2 separate regions of the Homo sapiens genome follow, and region 2 is linked to region 1. Evidence: promoter capture Hi-C in 16 types of primary human blood cells and fetal thymus (Javierre and others, 2016). All regions are on one chromosome and are shown on one strand. The core of a region is centred on a gene start or on the middle of the fragment in contact, and the rest is flanking DNA. Distances in the headings are between cores, read along the strand shown. Region 1 holds the start of GUCY2D (guanylate cyclase 2D, retinal). Region 2 overlaps DNAH2 (dynein axonemal heavy chain 2).

Region 1 (5,676 bases), core at 2,119-4,618:
GTGCCTGTAATCCCAGCTACTCGGGAGGCTGAGGCAGGAGAATCGCTTGAACCCGGGGGGCGGAGGTTGCAGTGAGCCAAGATCACACCACTGCACTCCATCCTGGGCAGCTGAGTGAGACTCTGTCTCAAAAAAAAAAAAAAAAAAAAAGTTAAAATGGTAAATTTTATGTTAGGTATATTTTATGACAAAAAGATTTTAAAAATCCCCCCTTCATCTTCATCTATATTACCCATCTGTCCATGGACCCTAGAGGAAAATTGGGAGATTGTCAATTTAACCAAATTGGTCTCTGGACCTCATTCTCATCATGTGTGAAATGAAAGAGTTGGCTGGAGTTTCCACAATTTCATGTAGAGATGTTGAGTCAGAAGACAGGAGATGTGGGGAGGTAACTCTTATGGAAGGTAAGAAGCACAGCACTGTAGAAACGAATATTGATGTCTACTGGATTTTGGAAGTCTGCTACAGGTCAGACATCTAAATTTTTGTTGACAAATTTTTTTTAATTTAAATTAGAAAACATTTCAAGCATACAGAAAATCCCTACATATAGCGATTGTTTACCACCAAAAACTAACAGATGTTAATATTTTGCCATATATATATATGATCCGCCAGCCTCTGCCTCCCAAAGTGCTGGGATTACAGGCATGAGCCACCATGCCCAGCCTATGTGTCTTGCTTAATAAATCCATTCCTACCCTGAATTGATAAAGATGTCTTTTCAATCTATGTCTTTTTTTCTCTTAAAAATTTCTGCTCTTTTTAAATTTTTCTATTTTCTTATTTTTTTTCTTTGTTCTTCAGAGCAGATCTACTTTCTTTGAATTCTATAATCTAAAATTTTTAATTAACTTTATTTGGAAATAATTTCAAACTTAAAAAATGTTGCAAAAATAAAAAATATGCAAAGAACACTCACAGGCTGTTTACCCAGATTCACCTATTGTTAGCATTTTACCCTATTTGTTTATCATTTGAAATAGATAATATATAAAACATACCATATATCATATCTAATATATATTTTTTCTGGACTGCTTGAGGGTCAGTTATATACATGATGCTTTACCATTAAATACTTCAGTGTGTATTTCCTATGAACAGGGATAGTCTAACATAACTACACTACCATTATTAACTTTATAACTTTATACTCTTTTGAATCTCCTGTGATATTCCAATTTTGTCAATTGCCAATTTTTTTGTTAATGTTGATGTTCTTTATAGCATTTTTATAACCCCATGCCGCCCTATAACCATTTTTCTTTTCTTTTTTTGTTTTTTGAGATGGAGTCTCACTTTGTTGCTTAGGCTGGAGTGCAGTGGCGCGATATTGGCTCACTGCAAACTCTGCTTCCCAGGTTCAGGTGATTCTCTTGCCTCAGCCTCCTGAGCAGCTGGGATTACAGGTGCACTCCACCACCCGCGGCTAATTTTTGTATTTTTAGTAGAGACGGGACTTCACCATGTTGGCCAGGCTGGTCTCAAACTCCTGACCTCAAGTGATCCGCCTGCCTCGGCCTCCCAAAGTGCTGGGATTATAGGCGTGAGCCACGGTGCCCGGCCTCAAGCCCTATAACCTTATAGCACTTTAAAAAAATCCAATGATACAGAATCCAAACTAAGGGCAGGTGTTGCATATAATTGTCATGTCTTTTTAGGTTTCTTTAATCTGAAACAGTTCCTCAACCTCTATTTGCCTTCTATGACATTGACATTTTTGAAGAATGCAGTCCTCCCCACCTTTTTAAATAGAACGTTTCTCATTTAGTGTTTATCTTATGTTTCCTTGTGATTAGATTTGAAATAATGCTGGAACATTGCCGAGACGTATTGTGCAGCACTGCATAGGTGTAGTATTATGTCCTTCTCAGGGTATCACATCTGGAGGCAAAGAATGTCTCTCTGCCCCTCATGGTTAATTTTGATCACTTGCTTAAAGTATTGCCCCATTTCTCCACTGTACAATGACTGCTTTTTATTTTATTCCCCACTCCCTTCCAACTCATGGCAATCTGGAGGGAGATACTTTCAGACCCTGCAAAAGTTCTGCTCCTCATCCAACATTTCCCCCAGCTTTAGAATCCACTGATGATTCTTACCTGATCCAATCTTTGCCACCAAGTCTGAAAATGATTCATTTAAAAGTTTTTAAGTTTTATTTTTCACATATAGGTCTTTGACCTGGAATAGATTTTGTGTATGGTGTGAGATAGGGATTGAATTCTATTTTCCCCCCAGATGGCTAATCAGCTCCATTTGTTGAAGTTTATTCTTTCCCAGTTGGTAAGAAATGTCCACGTCTTCACACATTTGCTGTGTTTGTTTCAGTACTGTATATTCTATTTCATTGGTCCATTTGTTTATCCTTGTGCCAAAACTATGAAGTCTTTATTGCCATAGCTTTATAATATATATTTATATAAATATATAATTGCTGTCACTACATAATGTGGATTTATATAAATATATAATATATAATTGCTATAGCTTTATAGTATATATTTATATAATTGCTGTTTTATATATCATATAATTATATAAATATATAATTGCTATGTTTTATATATTATATATTTATGTAGATATATAATTGCTATGTTTTATATATTATATATTTACATAAATACATAATTGCTATTGCTTTATAATAAATTTGTATATCTTATAGGGCATCTTCCATTATACTCTTCTCTAAAATTGTTAGCTATTCTTGCCATCCGGGCAATTATATTCATTTTCACAACAACCCTCAGATTAAGCAATTGCCCAAGGTCCAAAAATCAGCAAGAGGGACTTGGAACCCAGGTCTGTCGGAGGCCAAAGCTCTTTTCATTACTTCCTGAGGGTGGTTTTCTAGGCATGGAGAAGCAGAGGTCAGGGAATCAAGTGTGGCGAGAGAGAGAAGAGAAGTGAAAGAAGAAAGGCAGGTGTCAGCTTGGTGTGGGTTTGGTCTCTGGGATATAGACTTTGCCAGCCAAAGGATGGAGCTTGAACTTAGCTGGCAGAACTGGAAACAGAAGATTGTAAGGAAAGGGACTGGGATCAGTGTTTCTTCTCCAGGACGGATTACCCACAGCTGTCCACGGGCAGGCACTTGTTACTTTCTGGCTGAGCAGGGCAGTGTGGCCGACGGCTGAAAGGGGAAGCTGCGGCTGCTTTTGTGCAGGGGTGGTGGTGATGAGGGTGATGTGGGGGGCTGGAAGGCATGGAGGGGAAAGGATCTGGCTGACTACCTGGAAGCCAGGACAGATCCCACCCCAGAAAGGCGCAGTAGGGGCTCTCATCCTCCACTAGCCCGCCCCTCCCTACCTAATTAAGGACCCTAATCAGCTTGGGGAGATTAAGGGCTCTGGCCGGCTGTACCCACGCCCCCGCCCTGGCCTGGGCTGGCAAGGAAGACCTGTGGGCGGGCGTCAAAAGGGGGACCGGCCCTGTGACCCCTCACCGGGGGCCGTGGGCCCGAGCCCCCGGACTTCCCTGTAAATGTCAGAGGCCCCTCCGCTGGGATAGGGTCGGTCTGAGGGCGCAGGCGAGTCCCTGCTGACCCCTGACGCCTCCGACGGGGGGAGGGGCAGGCCGGGTGGGAGCGGGAAGCCGGGGCGGCAGAAGGGGGCTTCGGGGCGGTGTCCTTGGCCCCAGTTAGTCTTCCCAGCCTCCGGAGGGGGCGGTAGCAGCAGAATCATCCCATGGGTTACTCGGGCTTGGAGAAACTCGGGGTTACGGGGAGAACCCTAGGGGAGGCCGGGGTCTCAGTCGCTCAGCCTGCTCCGTCTGTGTTCGCAGAAGCCGGCAATGACCGCCTGCGCCCGCCGAGCGGGTGGGCTTCCGGACCCCGGGCTCTGCGGTCCCGCGTGGTGGGCTCCGTCCCTGCCCCGCCTCCCCCGGGCCCTGCCCCGGCTCCCGCTCCTGCTGCTCCTGCTTCTGCTGCAGCCCCCCGCCCTCTCCGCCGTGTTCACGGTGGGGGTCCTGGGCCCCTGGGCTTGCGACCCCATCTTCTCTCGGGCTCGCCCGGACCTGGCCGCCCGCCTGGCCGCCGCCCGCCTGAACCGCGACCCCGGCCTGGCAGGCGGTCCCCGCTTCGAGGTAGCGCTGCTGCCCGAGCCTTGCCGGACGCCGGGCTCGCTGGGGGCCGTGTCCTCCGCGCTGGCCCGCGTGTCGGGCCTCGTGGGTCCGGTGAACCCTGCGGCCTGCCGGCCAGCCGAGCTGCTCGCCGAAGAAGCCGGGATCGCGCTGGTGCCCTGGGGCTGCCCCTGGACGCAGGCGGAGGGCACCACGGCCCCTGCCGTGACCCCCGCCGCGGATGCCCTCTACGCCCTGCTTCGCGCATTCGGCTGGGCGCGCGTGGCCCTGGTCACCGCCCCCCAGGACCTGTGGGTGGAGGCGGGACGCTCACTGTCCACGGCACTCAGGGCCCGGGGCCTGCCTGTCGCCTCCGTGACTTCCATGGAGCCCTTGGACCTGTCTGGAGCCCGGGAGGCCCTGAGGAAGGTTCGGGACGGGCCCAGGGTCACAGGTAGGCTCCCTTGCAGGGTGCGAGGAGGTCGGCTGGTCCTGCCGGCAGCCGGACGGCGCCGCGAGCCAAGCCTCTGTCCGCAGCAGTGATCATGGTGATGCACTCGGTGCTGCTGGGTGGCGAGGAGCAGCGCTACCTCCTGGAGGCCGCAGAGGAGCTGGGCCTGACCGATGGCTCCCTGGTCTTCCTGCCCTTCGACACGATCCACTACGCCTTGTCCCCAGGCCCGGAGGCCTTGGCCGCACTCGCCAACAGCTCCCAGCTTCGCAGGGCCCACGATGCCGTGCTCACCCTCACGCGCCACTGTCCCTCTGAAGGCAGCGTGCTGGACAGCCTGCGCAGGGCTCAAGAGCGCCGCGAGCTGCCCTCTGACCTCAATCTGCAGCAGGTAGACGGTCCCGGGAGGAGGGAAGAAGGCAAGGGAGAGGGGAGAGGACAGCCAAAGCAGGGAGAGGAGGATGCAGCCAATGGAGAAAGAACCACTGGCAGCTCTAGCTGTTTGGAGTTTCCTGGGTAATGTAGAGGCTCTGGCCCCACTTGGGGTCTCTTAGTGTACGAGGATTGCCTCTAGAGAGTAGGCAATTCGACCTCTCAAGTCCAACATCAAGCAGTAAACTCTAATGAACTGTAAACTGCAAAACCTTTTGCAATTGGCTTCAAAGTAAACCCGTTTCCACCACCACATACTCCCAGCTGTCTAAAATAAATACTTGGTGTTCTTGAAAGCAGGAAGGAGGGAGGATGCCAATCCAACCTTCATCCCTAGTTCAGAGGTATTTCCTCTGGGGCCTCATCTGGTGGTCTTAGCTTTTCAAGGGCCTAGACACCTTGCAAGAAGCAGAAAGTTCCCTGGGTGGATTCAGGGGCAATCCTAACCAGATCCATAGTGTATTTCCAACATCCAGCTAATACCTAGGGATCCCCAAGTCCCCAGAATCCCAGTTCAGATCATCTAACTTTACTCCCGCCACAAAGGGGGACTAGAAACCACTATGAGAAGGGAATTTAGATGTCAACGGGCAGTGAATTAACCACCACAAAGGTCCAACTCACAGGCGGCTGCATGAGAGAAGGGTCGTAGGGGTTGCAATTTCCCATCGATGCCCCTAGATTCTTCCAAGAGGATTGGAGGTGTCCAATGGAGGGGGGAGGGG
Region 2 (5,676 bases), core at 1,717-4,216, 220 kb before region 1:
TGGTGCCTGACTCCACCCTCATTGCAGAAATCATTCTCTTTGGAGAGGGCTTTGGCAACTGCAAGGTACTCCAATAACCCCTTTTCTCCAGTGATTTTAATTTCCTTTCATAATTATTCCCTGGACAGAGGAGCTCCCCAAGGGCCTCACAATCAGCTTATCCTCTAAGGAACTTAGACTATTGTCAGTAGGATGTGTGGGGAGAAAAATTTAGGGGAGGGAGGTGTCTCCTCCGTGATATCACTAACTGACAATGGCGTCATTCACACAATTTCCTCAGGAGAATCCATAGAGTGCCTCCTAGCTGCTTCATGTCCTGGGACCTGGCTTCTTGTCTCTGACTGTCCTGAGATGAAGCAGAGGGATTTGTGGGGAGATGGACTGTTTCCTCCTCTGTTTTGGTTCCCCAGATTCTGGCCAAGAAGGTGTACACACTCTACTCACTGGCTGTGCAGCAGCTGTCCAGACAGGACCACTATGACTTTGGCCTGCGTGCCCTCACCTCCCTTCTGCGCTATGCTGGCAAGAAGCGCCGCCTACAGCCGGATCTGACTGATGAAGAGGTAGAGCAAGGACACAGCCTTTGGACCTGACTTCCACTGTCACTGGACCTATGTCACTTCTCTCAAGTCTTTCAGACCCTTTCTTTCCTCAGATTGGGATTCTCACCTTCCCACCTCGTCCCATCCCCGTGTTGCCCGCTGCTTTGCTAATGGCTAACTGGTGTATCCATTGTTCTTGGCACGTGCCCCGAAGCCCTTTGGAGGTGAAAGGCCTAGGCCCTGCCTCCTCAAGCCTGAGTCTCTGTCTTTTCCCATTCAGGTTCTGCTGCTCTCAATGAGAGATATGAACATCGCCAAGCTCACTTCAGTTGATGCACCCCTGTTCAATGCCATCGTGCAAGATCTGTTTCCCAACATTGAGCTGCCTGTCATTGACTATGGCAAGGTATTTGTTCCTTAATACTCTCCCTGACCGGGTGCTGTGGCTCATGGTTGTAATCCCAGCACTTTGGGAGGCCGAGGTGGGCAGACTGTTTGAGTCCAGGAGTTTGAGACTAGCCTGGGCAACATGGTGAAACCCTGTATCTACAAAAAGTACAAAAATTAGCCAGGCATGGTGGTGCACACGAGTGTAGTCCCAGCTACTCGGGAGGCTGAGGTAGGAGGATTGCTTGAGCCCCAGGAGATTGAGGCTATAATGAGCTGAGATTGTGCCTCTGCACTCCAGCCTGGGTGACAGAGCAAGACCGTGTCTCAAAAAACAAAACAAAAACAAAAAAACCGCACTCTCCCTGACCACATATGTGAATATGCATCTGGGAATAGAAAACTTGGCTTCCAGTCCTTGTTCTGCCATCTACTAGCTATGACTCTGAACAAGTCAATTGACCTCTCTTTGGACTTCCTTATCTATAAAGCAATAGACTATTCAAACATTCTGCTCTCTGACCACAACTCCCTCCTCCGCTGACCTACTCAAGTGTACCTGCTCAAGTGCATCCATGCAGCAACGCTCTGACTTCATTGAAACCTCTAGTCCGTTGCCTTTGCACTTTCTCCGTGCCCATCAGTCCTCCATGCCTCTACTTCTCACCTCATCAGGGAGTTTTGAGGAGGGGCTGCTAGAAGCCATTTGGTATCAGAGAGCAGCAGAATGGAAGAGGGAGTTTTAGAAAGCATAAGAACTTTCTTCTCTGGCAGTGTGGTAGTCTAGATACCCTGAATGATCCTTTCAATTGAAACTACTAAAATGATGGATAAAAATATAATAATAACATCCTTTTTAATGCATTGCTAAGCTGGCAAGAAAGGAAGAATTCCAGGAGTTGAGGAGGGTAGGGAGTAAAAGCAGGAACCCTGGGAGGCAGGTAAGTACCAAAGCTGGCCTTCTCCCTGAAAACTGTTGTTGATCTTAAGGCAGTGAGGATAGGAGATGAAACAACCCAAGTCTGAAGATATAACAGAAGATGCAGTGCTGCATAAACCCCAGTCCCCAAGGGGCAACATCCCCAGTAGATGGAAAAACGAGAAGTCTGAGATTTAGAAGCGTATATACAGGAAAGAAACTTGCTTGTTTTGACCTCTGATGATGGAAGAAAAAGACCAAATTTTCTTTGAGATTTCCTAACCACACACCAGCTCTCACATGGTTTCCAGTCATCATTTATCCTACTGTGTAATCAGAAAAGAAATCTCAAGCTTAGATTTCAATATTAAGTAGTTCTAGGTTGTTAGTGCCCCCAGGTGACTGGAAGAAGCAAAAGCAAATTATTTCTGGAGGAATGAAATTTCAACTCACACTTCAAAGAAGTGCCACAGGTAAAAGTCCAAGAAAATGAGCAACTCATGGTCAAAAATCACAAAACACACAAGGAAACAAGAAACCATGAATGGGAGCCAGAAGAACAACAGACAGTGGAATCAGATCCATGAAAACTTACTTCAGATATTGAAACTGATAGGGGCGAGGTGCGGTGGTTCACGCCTGTCATCTCAACACTTTGGAGGCTGAGGCAACAGGATCACTTTAGGCTAGGAGTTCAAGACCAGCCTGGGTAACATAGCAAGACCTCCATCTCTTAAAAAAAAAAATAGCCACACATGGAGGTGTGCTCCTGTAGTCACAACTACTTTCTCCAAAAGCTACTAGAAAAACGTGCTCTACTTAAACACAGGAACACATCGTGAAAAGGACGATGGGAAACAAAAGATTTGGTGCAAGGGGGAGGCTACAGTAATCCTCGGGGTGTTGGTGAATGGAGGTCACAGGATGATGGTGGTGCACTGGGCAAAGAGAGAAGCCAATCCAGACTGGAGCAAACCTGAAGTCTTCAGGAGGACTGTTTTTTTGTTTTGTTTTGTTTTGTTTTTTTGAGATGGAGTTTCACTCTTGTTGCCCAGGCTGGAGTGCAATGGCACAATCTTGGCTCACCGCAACCTCCGCCTCCCAGGTTCAAGCGATTCTCCTGCCTCAGCCTCCCGAGTAGCTAGGATTACAGGCATGCACCACCACACCCAGCTAATTTTGTATTTTTGGTAGAGACGGGGTTTCTCCATGTTGGTCAGGCTGGTCTCGAACTCCCGACCTCAGGTGATCCGCCTGCCTCAGCCTCCCAAAGTGCTGGAATTACAGGCATGAGCCACTGCGCCGGGCCAGGATGACTTTTTAAAGAAGAAATTGATACCCGATGTGAAAATTGTTTGAAAGATTTAGTCAACTGGTAGAGTTTGGAATTGAGTTAGAGATAAGCACATTAAAAACTAAGCAAACATGGGGGCAAAACAAAAACAAAAACAAAAACAAAACCCTAAGCAAACAGGCTGGACATGATGGCTCACACCTGTAATCCTAGCACTTTGGGAGGCATAAGCAGGTGGATTGCTTGAGGTGAGGAGTTTGAGACCAGCGTGGGCAACATGGTGAAAATGAGCCAGGTGTAATGGCTCATGCTTGTAGTCTCAGCTATTGGGAGGGCTGAGGCAGGAGGATTGTTTGAGCCCAGGAGGTGGAGATTGCAGTGGCTGAGATTGTGAGATTGTGCCACTCCAGCCTGGGTGACAGAGTGAGACCCTGTTTCCAAAAAAAAAAAAACAAAAAACAGAACCTAAGCAAACAAAAATCACAAAAACTATTAGATCCTAGGGAAAACAAAAAAAGTTGCCCAAGAAAGGAAAAGTAACCATACATTGTTATACTGATACTTTATAATGTTTACAAGAGACCCATCTAAAGCTTAATGACAAAGGGCTGAAAGTCAAAGAATAGAAAATGATGTTTTTTCTATTATTTGATAATTATTAGTAAATAATTAGTTTTAGTAAATACGAATCAAAAGAAAGCTAGGGTAGCAATATGGGACAACAGATTTTGAGCTAAAAAGCATTGCTAGAAATAGAGGGCTATTTCATAATAATAAAAGTTTCAACTCATCAGGAAGGTATAACAATTCTAGATTTTTGTGCATCTAATAATATAGTCTCAAAATAAGTAGAGCAAATTTTGCACAATTACAAGGAGAAAGAGACAAATCTAGTATCATAGTGGAGAGCTTAATATTTCTTAATTGATAGAGCAAACAGACTAAAAATCAGGATATAGAAGATTTGAAGAACACAATCAACAATCATGATTTAATGGATATCTATAGAAACTGGACTCAATAATTGGAGAATCGGCCAGGCATGTTGGCTCATGCCTGTAGCCCCAGGACTTTGGGAGGCCAAGGTGGGAGGATTACCTGAGGTCAGGACTTCAAGGCTGCATTGAGCCATGACTGTACCACTGCACTCCAGCCTGGGTGACAGAGTGAGACCTCAACTCAACTCAATAAAATAAAATAAATAATTGAAGCATAACCATATTTTTCAAGCACACATAGAAAATTGTTGGACCATGTAGGAAAAGGAAAATTGATGACTATGTAAAGGCCATAAATTTGCCTCAAAAATGTCAAAGGAAGATATTCAGACCACAGTTTCTGATCACAGTGATAACTCTACTGCTATCAGGCAAAGCAGACTTTATGGCAAGAAGCAATCGTAAAGGTGAAGAGTGACATTTCATAATGATAAAAGGATCAATACACAGAAAGTTATAAGAGTTCTAAATCTGTATGCACTAAATAATATAGCTACAAAATCCATAAAAGAAACTGGACAGAACCATAAGGAGAAACACATAAATCCACAGCCCTGGTGGGAGATCTTGACTTACTTCTTTTAGGAACAGATAATGCAAACAGACCAAAAAATCCATAAAGAGATGCATTTGAATGCTTTTAACAGACAGTGACAAAATAGAAAAAGCCCGAGTGTTTGGAAATTTGGCAATACAATTCTAAATAACTAATGGATCAAAGAAGAAATTAGAGAATTTTTTTTTTTTTTTTTGAGATGGAGTCTCAAAAAAAAGCTCTGTTGCCCAGGCTGGAGTGCAGTGGTGAGATTTCGGCTCACTGCAACCTCCGCCTCCCAGGTTCAAGCGATTCTCGTGCCTCAGCCTCCTGAGTAGCTGGGACTACAGGCACACGCCACCACACCCGGCTAATTTTTTGTATTTTTAGTAGAGACGGGGTTTCGCCATGTTGGCCAGGCTGGTCTCGAACTCCTGACCTCAGGCGATCTGTCCGCCTCAGCCTCCCAAAGAGTTGGGATTACAGACGTGAGCCACCGCGCCTGGCTGAGAATATTTTTTAACTGAATAAGTAGAAAATGTGACATTAAACTTGTTTAGGACACTAAACACATGTGCACACAGAAAACATACTAATAAAACTACTTCTCAGATAGTGGAAGGAAGTGGAATTAGTGAGGCCTGTTAGTGCAAGTAACTATCTTGTATCTATTTGAAAATATTTGGCTACATGAGCTGTGTGTTTAAAAATGGCACACTATTCTGGGGCCCATCTGTTAGGTCATGGTTCTTCAAGCATTACTTTTTAACTTAGGTAATAATGTCTTTACTATTAAACGGGCTCTTCCACCAAACTGTGAGCTCTGCAATAGGACGAAATCTATTTTGTTCCAAGCCGTATCTGTGGCAACCAGCACAGTGCTTGGCATACATTGTACAGGCTTAATAAATATTTGCTGAATAATAACAAAAAGTGTGTAGAGCTACATGTAAGACACTGTGTCAATGAGGAAACTGAGGCGTGGAGAAGTAACTTACCCA

What was found. Contacts are between HindIII fragments. The CHiCAGO score rates a contact against its expected background, and 5 or more counts as called.
Region 2: a fragment that was not itself captured here is called in contact with the fragment with the promoter of GUCY2D in region 1 in 11 of 17 cell types (activated CD4 T cells, total CD8 T cells, erythroblasts and 8 more); the score reaches 11.1 in activated CD4 T cells.

Annotation. Positions count from the first base shown.
Region 1 is chr17:7,999,247-8,004,922 of GRCh38, forward strand. GUCY2D (guanylate cyclase 2D, retinal) reads left to right here and starts at 3,369. Exons shown (of 20, transcript NM_000180.4): 1 at 3,369-3,488; 2 at 3,793-4,522; 3 at 4,606-4,910. The coding sequence starts at 3,802. The HindIII fragment of the contact is 12,410 bases long and covers 1-5,676 here.
Region 2 is chr17:7,780,220-7,785,895 of GRCh38, forward strand. DNAH2 (dynein axonemal heavy chain 2) reads left to right here. Exons shown (of 86, transcript NM_020877.5): 37 at 1-65; 38 at 411-563; 39 at 823-948. Among named protein-coding and RNA genes, the nearest start is that of KDM6B, 51 kb to the right of the region's middle. The HindIII fragment of the contact is 1,534 bases long and covers 2,200-3,733 here.